Regions from separate parts of the Homo sapiens genome. Here region 1 is linked to region 2. The links are contacts of gene promoters, found by promoter capture Hi-C in blood cells and fetal thymus (Javierre and others, 2016). All regions are on one chromosome and are shown on one strand. The core of a region is centred on a gene start or on the middle of the fragment in contact, and the rest is flanking DNA. Distances in the headings are between cores, read along the strand shown. Region 1 holds the start of CCDC92 (coiled-coil domain containing 92). Region 2 holds the start of DHX37 (DEAH-box helicase 37).

Evidence for each region. Contacts are between HindIII fragments. The CHiCAGO score rates a contact against its expected background, and 5 or more counts as called.
Region 1: a contact is called between the fragment with the promoter of CCDC92 here and the fragment with the promoter of DHX37 in region 2, in 1 of 17 cell types (total B cells). The highest score is 6.6, in total B cells.

The regions. Positions count from the first base shown.
Region 1 is chr12:123,971,275-123,974,617 of GRCh38, forward strand. CCDC92 (coiled-coil domain containing 92) reads right to left here and starts at 1,557. Exons shown (of 5, transcript NM_025140.3): 1 at 1,255-1,557. It overlaps ZNF664-RFLNA (ZNF664-RFLNA readthrough), which reads left to right and starts at 1,941. Exons shown (of 5, transcript NM_001347902.2): 1 at 1,941-2,029; 2 at 2,612-2,746. ZNF664 (zinc finger protein 664) reads left to right here and starts at 1,941. Exons shown (of 5, transcript NM_152437.3): 1 at 1,941-2,078; 2 at 2,612-2,746. RefSeq lists enhancers at 304-1,041, 1,042-1,779 and silencers at 1,000-1,119, 1,150-2,019, 2,090-2,169, 2,280-2,509. The HindIII fragment of the contact is 3,963 bases long and covers 585-3,343 here.
Region 2 is chr12:124,987,295-124,990,661 of GRCh38, forward strand. It overlaps DHX37 (DEAH-box helicase 37), which reads right to left and starts at 1,837. Exons shown (of 27, transcript NM_032656.4): 1 at 1,623-1,837. The coding sequence starts at 1,728. RefSeq lists an enhancer at 1-300 and a silencer at 1,541-1,750. The HindIII fragment of the contact is 16,586 bases long and covers 1-3,367 here.

The sequences.
Region 1 (3,343 bases), core at 307-2,806, 1.0 Mb before region 2:
CAAGCATATTTCACATAAGATGAACAGTTAGCCAAAAGAATTACATACATTTCAAAACATCTTTGGAGGTAAAAGCCACTTTAAACGTTAGCATCTTTTTCCTTACAATGCAATAGCGAGAAAATGCATGGGAATTCTTGATGAGCAAAAAAAAAAAAAAAGAAAAGTCGTTTTATCAATACCAATGCTCTTTAAATAAATTTCAAACGTAAAAGTTTTAAAATGGCAATCCTAGTTTTAATACTCTTACAGGTTTCTGGAACTGCGTAATATGTTAAAGTATTACAGCGTGGTAGCTTGCATTTTGTTATAAAACCGACTACTGCAACCTAAGCTACAGAGCGCGGTTATATTTTCTCTCTGGCAGCCTAATTTTCCTTAGTGGACTAGATCGTACTGCTAAATACCAAAACTTGAAATGAAACAATACAGGTCAGCATGAAAACCTAAGTTAGAGAAACTCACTCGCCGTAGCAGACGGCAGCCCAGTAGCCAAGCCTGGAGCTCTGCTGCGTTTGTGCATTCTGCTCCGTTTCACGAATCACAGGCAAATCGTTACTCAGAGTAAACTAAAGCCGCATCAAAGCTTCAGGAAGGGGCTGGCAAGGTAGTGTACTTACGGAAAGGCTACCAGGACGGGAGGCGATACAACTTGTCAGGGAGGGTCTCTAAGGTTCCCCGGGTGGTAACAAGCATTTAAAAAGGCGATGTGGATTCAGACGGCCTCCTCCCCACAGCATCCCAGACAAAGCCGGGCTAGGCCCCGGGGCGCTCCTGGTGCACCTGCAATGCGGATCCCTCGCCCTGCGATCCCACCCCGGGGCAGACAGGAGCGCCCCGGGACCGGCCTCTCCTCCCCCTTGGCACTGGGGTGGGCGCGCGCCGCGGCCGGTCCGCACCCTGGACTGGAGCCCGGGCCGGGGAGCCCCCTCCCCAGAAAGGGCCGGCAGACCCCGCGGGGGCGGGCGCGGGGGTCGCCGAGCCTCAGGGACCCTCTTTCCCCGACTCCGCCGTCTCCCGAGTTGCCTTCGCCCGGGGCCACCCCTGCCCCTGGGGGAGCTAACGTGGCTCCCAAGCCCCGGAGGTGGGGCAGGAGGACCCCGTCCCCCGTCTCCCGGCGGGGAGGGTTTTTAAAGTCTTCGCCACGAACTCCCGTCCCTGCCCGGCCCCTCCGCCCCTGCCCGGCCCCTCCGCCCCCGCCGGCGCTGCCAGGTGAGCGGGGCCGGACTCGACACACCCCGGGCCCCGCCTCACCTGCGGGCGCCGCCGTCGCGTTCCTTCAGGCGGCTGCCCTCTTAGGCTCGGTCCTCCCGGCGGGCGGCGGTGGGGGCCCGTGGCCCATGGGCTGGGCGGGGCGCGGCGGGCGGGGCTGCCTGGGCTCGGGCGCTGCCCGGGCCGGGCCGCCGAGGGAGGTCAGTGGGCACCGCCCGCCCGGCGCATCTCGCCCGCTCCCACCCCAGCGCTAGCCGCGGTGCACCCTGGGAGCGGGGCCGGCGGCGAGGCCTGGCCGCGCTGACCCGGCGGGCTAGGCGCCGGCGCGGCGGCGGGCCTGTGTCTGCCGGGCTGGGCGGGGGCGGCGGGCCGATATTCACTTGGCGAGGCGGGGCTACGCCCCCTTCCGCCCGGCTGTGGCGGGGCAGGGGCGAAGGCCGAGGGGAAGGGAGGGTCGGGCCCGCGGGACGCAGGCGCACAGCTCAGGTGCGGCCGCACTGCGGTTGCCCTGGGTAACGCGGCCCGAGGGAGGGGGGGGCGCGGGGAGGAGCGAGGGAGGCGAGCGGGAGCGCGCGCGCCGGGCGCTGGGGTGGGGGATGGCCGGGCCCGACCGGGCCGGGGCTGGGGGGCGGGGGCGGAGGCGGGCGGTGGGGGCGCGGGCCGGGTGGCCGCGCATGCGTGCGGCCCCCGCTCCCCCGGGGCTTCCCCGGCCTCGTGCGTGCGCACGCGCGCTGTCCCCCGGAGGCGTCTGGGTGTGCGGAGCGCGCGCGCGCGCGGCTCGGAGGCGCACCTGTGAGGTGTCCCTGAGGAGAGGGAGGTGGGTGCGCGGCGCCCGCGGCCTGGGGCGCTGACTCCCCTCACTTGGAGTGAGTTCTCGGCGGCCGGGCTGCAGTCTTTCTTTCTTTCCCGGAGGGAGGCGGGGGCCGGGGGCCAGGGAGCGGGCTGGGGGTGGGAAGGAGGTGGAGTGGCTTAAAGAAAAGAAAAACAACCCATCCCGGAGGATGGGCCTCGGGATGGCGGGGAAGGTCAGAGCGGCTCCGCGCAGCCTGGCGGGTCCCGGGCTGAGAAGCCGCCCCTCGGGCCTCGGGCGGTCGGCCGCGGGCCCGCAGTGCGGGGGAGCGGGGCCGGGGGGCGCAGATGGCGGCCGGTGCGAGCGAGGGCTGGGCAGCGGGCAGGGCGAGGCCGGGCGAGGCCCCTCGGGAGCCGGACTCCCGAGCCAGGCTCCATTGTTGTTGGAGCCGAGGGAAGGGGGAGCGCTGCCGCCCTCGTCGCCCGTGGAGCCGCGTCTTGGAGCCCTTCCAGGCGGGTCCCGGGAGAGGCGGTCATGGCCGCGCCAGGGGACCGGGGAGCCGGGCGGCTGCGGAGGAGCCGGCTGCATGGGGTGCTGTGTGTTTTTCAGGGCGCCCTGCGTCCGGCAGAGGAGGCGAGCATCCCGCTCAGGTGATGAGGAACCCCTCGCGCACCCAGCGCAGAAGGCTGCTGCCGCCGGACGCCTCCATTGTTTGACCACAACAAGGGCCGGATTCTCACCCAGGTAAACCGGCTGCCGGCGCTGTCCACTTCCCTCTGACTCCCGCCTCCGCAGGCGTTCTCACCCCTTCCAGGACTCGACTGCAGTTTTCTCACTGTCCCCGGCTTCTCATGAACTCCGTATACCCCCTCCCAGACATTTTCCCGTCCGGATCCATCTCTCCGCCACATCACCTCTCATTTCCCCCAGAACTCAGCTCCTTTGTGAAACCTTTCTTGCCGAACTCTAACAACTAAATCTCCCCGGGAGCCTGCTCCGAACTGAACTGTTCTGGTTGCTAGATTGCTTACGGGCTGTCTTATTGCAACAAAGGAGACCAGATACCGAAAAAAGATTTCTGAGCTATTGCCTTCTTCAAGGAACGTTTTCTGATATTTACAGTTTATTGTTTTCACAGGCTGGAACGGTTTTTAGGCATTTTGGCTTCTTATTTAGAGAGGGCTCCTATTTCCTTCATAGACGCATAGTTTTTTAGAGCAGGAAATTGACCTTGTTCAACCCGCAGGTTAATTAAAAATTTAAAAATTAATTCTAAATTAGCAGAGTAGTACATTTTCTTTGTAAAAACAGCATATCACAGAGATGGCATTTTGTCTTTGA
Region 2 (3,367 bases), core at 587-3,086:
ATCACGCCACTGCACTCCAGCCTAGGCGACAGAGCAAGGCTCCATCTCAAATAAATAAATAAATAAAAGAAGGTAATCTGAGTCATGTTCTTATGAGATTCCTCTGGCCCCTGAGAAAGGCAGGGATACATGGAAATGTCCTGTTCTGATGTGAGAAACAACTTTCCCCAAATCTCTGGGTCTGAGAGACCTCAGCCCCTCTGCTCAGGTGGTCCAGTTCCAAGTGTCAGCCCAGTGTCTACGGCTGTCTTTGAGGTGCCATCCTGAATTGTCACTGCCATCATAACGGTTGTCACCTGTCCTGGGACACACCCCACCTCTGTAACCTTTCTTTACTTTTCAAAGCAACATATTTTCCCAAATTACCATCTCCAAAACTCTGATAGGAGGTAAGACGGCTACTACAGGTTAAATATCCCTTTCCAGAAATGCTAGGAACCAGACCTGTTTTAGCTTTAGGAACATCTGTATTCTATTCACTGGTTGAGCATCCCTAATCTAAAAATTTGAAATCTGGAATGCTCCAATGAGCATTTCCTTAAGTGTCATGTTGACACTCAAAAACTTTTGAATTTTGGAGTATTTTGGATTAAGGCTGCTCAACGTGTGCTACTGGTCCCATTCTGCAGATGTGAAAACGAAGGCACAGAGATGTTAGGGGATCTGCCTCAACTCCCAGCCTGTCTGTGGAACTTTTTTTTTTTTTTTTTTTTTTTTGAGATGGAGTCTCGCTCTCTCACCCAGGCTAGAGTACAGTGGTGCGATCTTGGCTCACTGCAACCTCCGTATCCTGGGTTCAAGCCATTCTCCTGCCTCAGCCTCCCAAGTAGCTGGGACTACAGGTGCCCACCACCACGCCTCCTCTGCTCTAAATGCTCCCATGGCTGCCCTCTCCCGTAGAGAAAAAGCCCCAGTCCTCGCCAAGACTGCAGTCCAGGCCCGACCTGCCCTGGCCCCCTGTTTTTTCTCTCATCTCCAGGCAGCCACTCAGGTCTCCTTCAGATCTTGACTCTAACAGAGTGATGTCTTCTCCAGCAACTCTATGGGATGCTGCAACCCACCCAATGGCCTCTTCTGTTTTATCTGCTCACTATAGCCGCATAAATTTCTATATGTTTATTCTTTGCCTGTCTCCTCCTATACAGCAGGTAAACTCAGGGATTTTCTAAAAATCTCCCTTTCTGCTATGTCTCCAGTGCCTAGAATAGTGCCTGGCATGTAATAAGGGCTACTCCTAAAAAGGGGTCTGAGAGAAATGTCAGCCAGCCTGGAGCTGAGCAGACAAGACTGGGCTGAAAATACACATTTGGGGGTCGCTGGAGATTATAAAGAGATTATAATCGAAGTCATGGGAAGGGATGGAACTACTCCTGTTTTTTTTGCCAAATTCTCCATGTTACTATTTGAGGGCGAGAGAAATCCCGGGTATTCCATATACACTGTTAAAACTAGGCTGTCACTAAGCCCCTCTCCTTTGGATCATCTGGAATGGGGGGACCCATTCCCCCATTCCAGATGATCCATCCCACCCCTCTGGGATCCCCACCCGAGAGTCCTGAAGGCAGGGCACAGGCCGCCCTGGGAAATCTCCGAAATCCAGCCCCGGTCCGGGGATGTCTTACCCTCCAGTTCCAGCTGCACGGGGGGCGGCTCGGGGGGGCCCTTCGAGGGTCCGGGGCCCGCCTGCTGGCGCCCCTTGATGTTGTAGCGCCGGCGCAGCTTCCCCATGGCGACTAGGCCAGGGTGGGCGCTCCAGCGGCCGGACCAGCAGAGCAATCCGAAACCCAGCCCACGTGGGTTCCCAGACCACCAACTCCGGCCGTGAGACTTCCGGGTTGTGTTATCGCGAGAACTGTAACTGACTTTGCCGCTGAGGGGCGGGGTTGCAAGAGAAACCCAGCGAAGAGGAGAGGCGGAGCCGGGCCGGGCAGGGGGCGGGACTATTTAGAGAAGTAGGCGGGGCCTGAGGTCCCAGCGGAGGCCGGAGTTTAAGTCCTGGGCTGTTCTCGCTTGGGGTAGTCTGGGTTTAAATATGAATTATATCTACTGATACTAATTTGGCTTCTTGGGAGTGGAAGTGTTTTGCCACCTTTTAAAATATACCCCGCCCCCAGTACTCCAAACTTCTTCCCCCCAACCCTGGTTTGCGCATCTGTATTTTCTGATATTCCTACAAGAAACGTATTAGTCGTGTACTTTTAAAAAGGCACCAAATATTTCCATCACAGGGATAGATGGAAGATCTAAAAGGAGGCCTCTACGGGCGCGGTGGCTCACGCCTGTAATCCCAGCACTTTTGGAGGCCGAGGCGGGCGGATCACGAGGTCAGGATTTCAAGACCAGCCTGGCCAAGATGGTGAAACCCCCGTCTCTACCAAAAATACAAAAAAAATTTAGCTAGGCCTGGTGGCAGGCGTCTGTAATCCCAGCTACTTGGGAGGCTGAGGCAGAGAATTGATTGAACCCGGGAGGTGGACGTTGCAGTGAGCCGAGACTGCACCACTGCACTTCAGCCTGGGCAACAGAGCTAGACTCTGTCTCAAAAAAAAAAAAATAAAGTTGTCTATTACATAACTTTAAATTCCCATTACCGCATCACATTGTAACACACTGGGAAACAATGCATTATTATTATTATTGAGACAAGGTCTGGCTTTGTTGCCCAGGCTGGAGTGTAGTGGAGCAATCTCGGCTCACTGCAACCTCTGCCTCCCGGGTTTAAACGATTCTCCTGCCTCAGCCTTCCGAGTAGCTGGGACTACAGGTGCCCGCCACCACCCCCAGCTAGTTTTTGTATTTTAGTAGAGACGGAGTTTCACCATGTTGGCCAGGCTGGTCTCAAACTCCTGACCTCGTGATCTGCCTGCCTGGGCCTCCCAAAGTGCTGGGATTACAGGCATGAGCCACCGCGCCCGACTTTTTTTTTTTTTTTTTTAAGAGATGAGATCTCGCCCTGTGGGCCAGGCCAGAGTGCAGTGGTGCAATCACCACTCGCTGCAGCCTTGACCTGTCCTCCCACCTCAGCCTCCTGAGTAGTTATGACTACAGGCACACACCACCACGACGGGCTAATTTTTCTATTTTTTTGTAGAGATGGTGTCTCCCTATGTTGCTTAGACTGGTCTCAAAATTCTGGGCTCAAGGGATCCGTTTGTCTCGGCCTCCCAAAGTGCCGGAATTACAGGCATAAGCCACTGTGAAGGCCTTAATGAATGACGTTTAAAAAAATCATAATTAGCGTATCAAATCTATGGGGTTTTTTGTTTGTTTGCTTGTTTTTGTTTTTTTGAGACAGAACTCTCCCTCTGACGCCCAGGCTGGAGTGTAGTGGAGCAGTCTCGGCTCACTGCAACCTCCACCTCTCGGG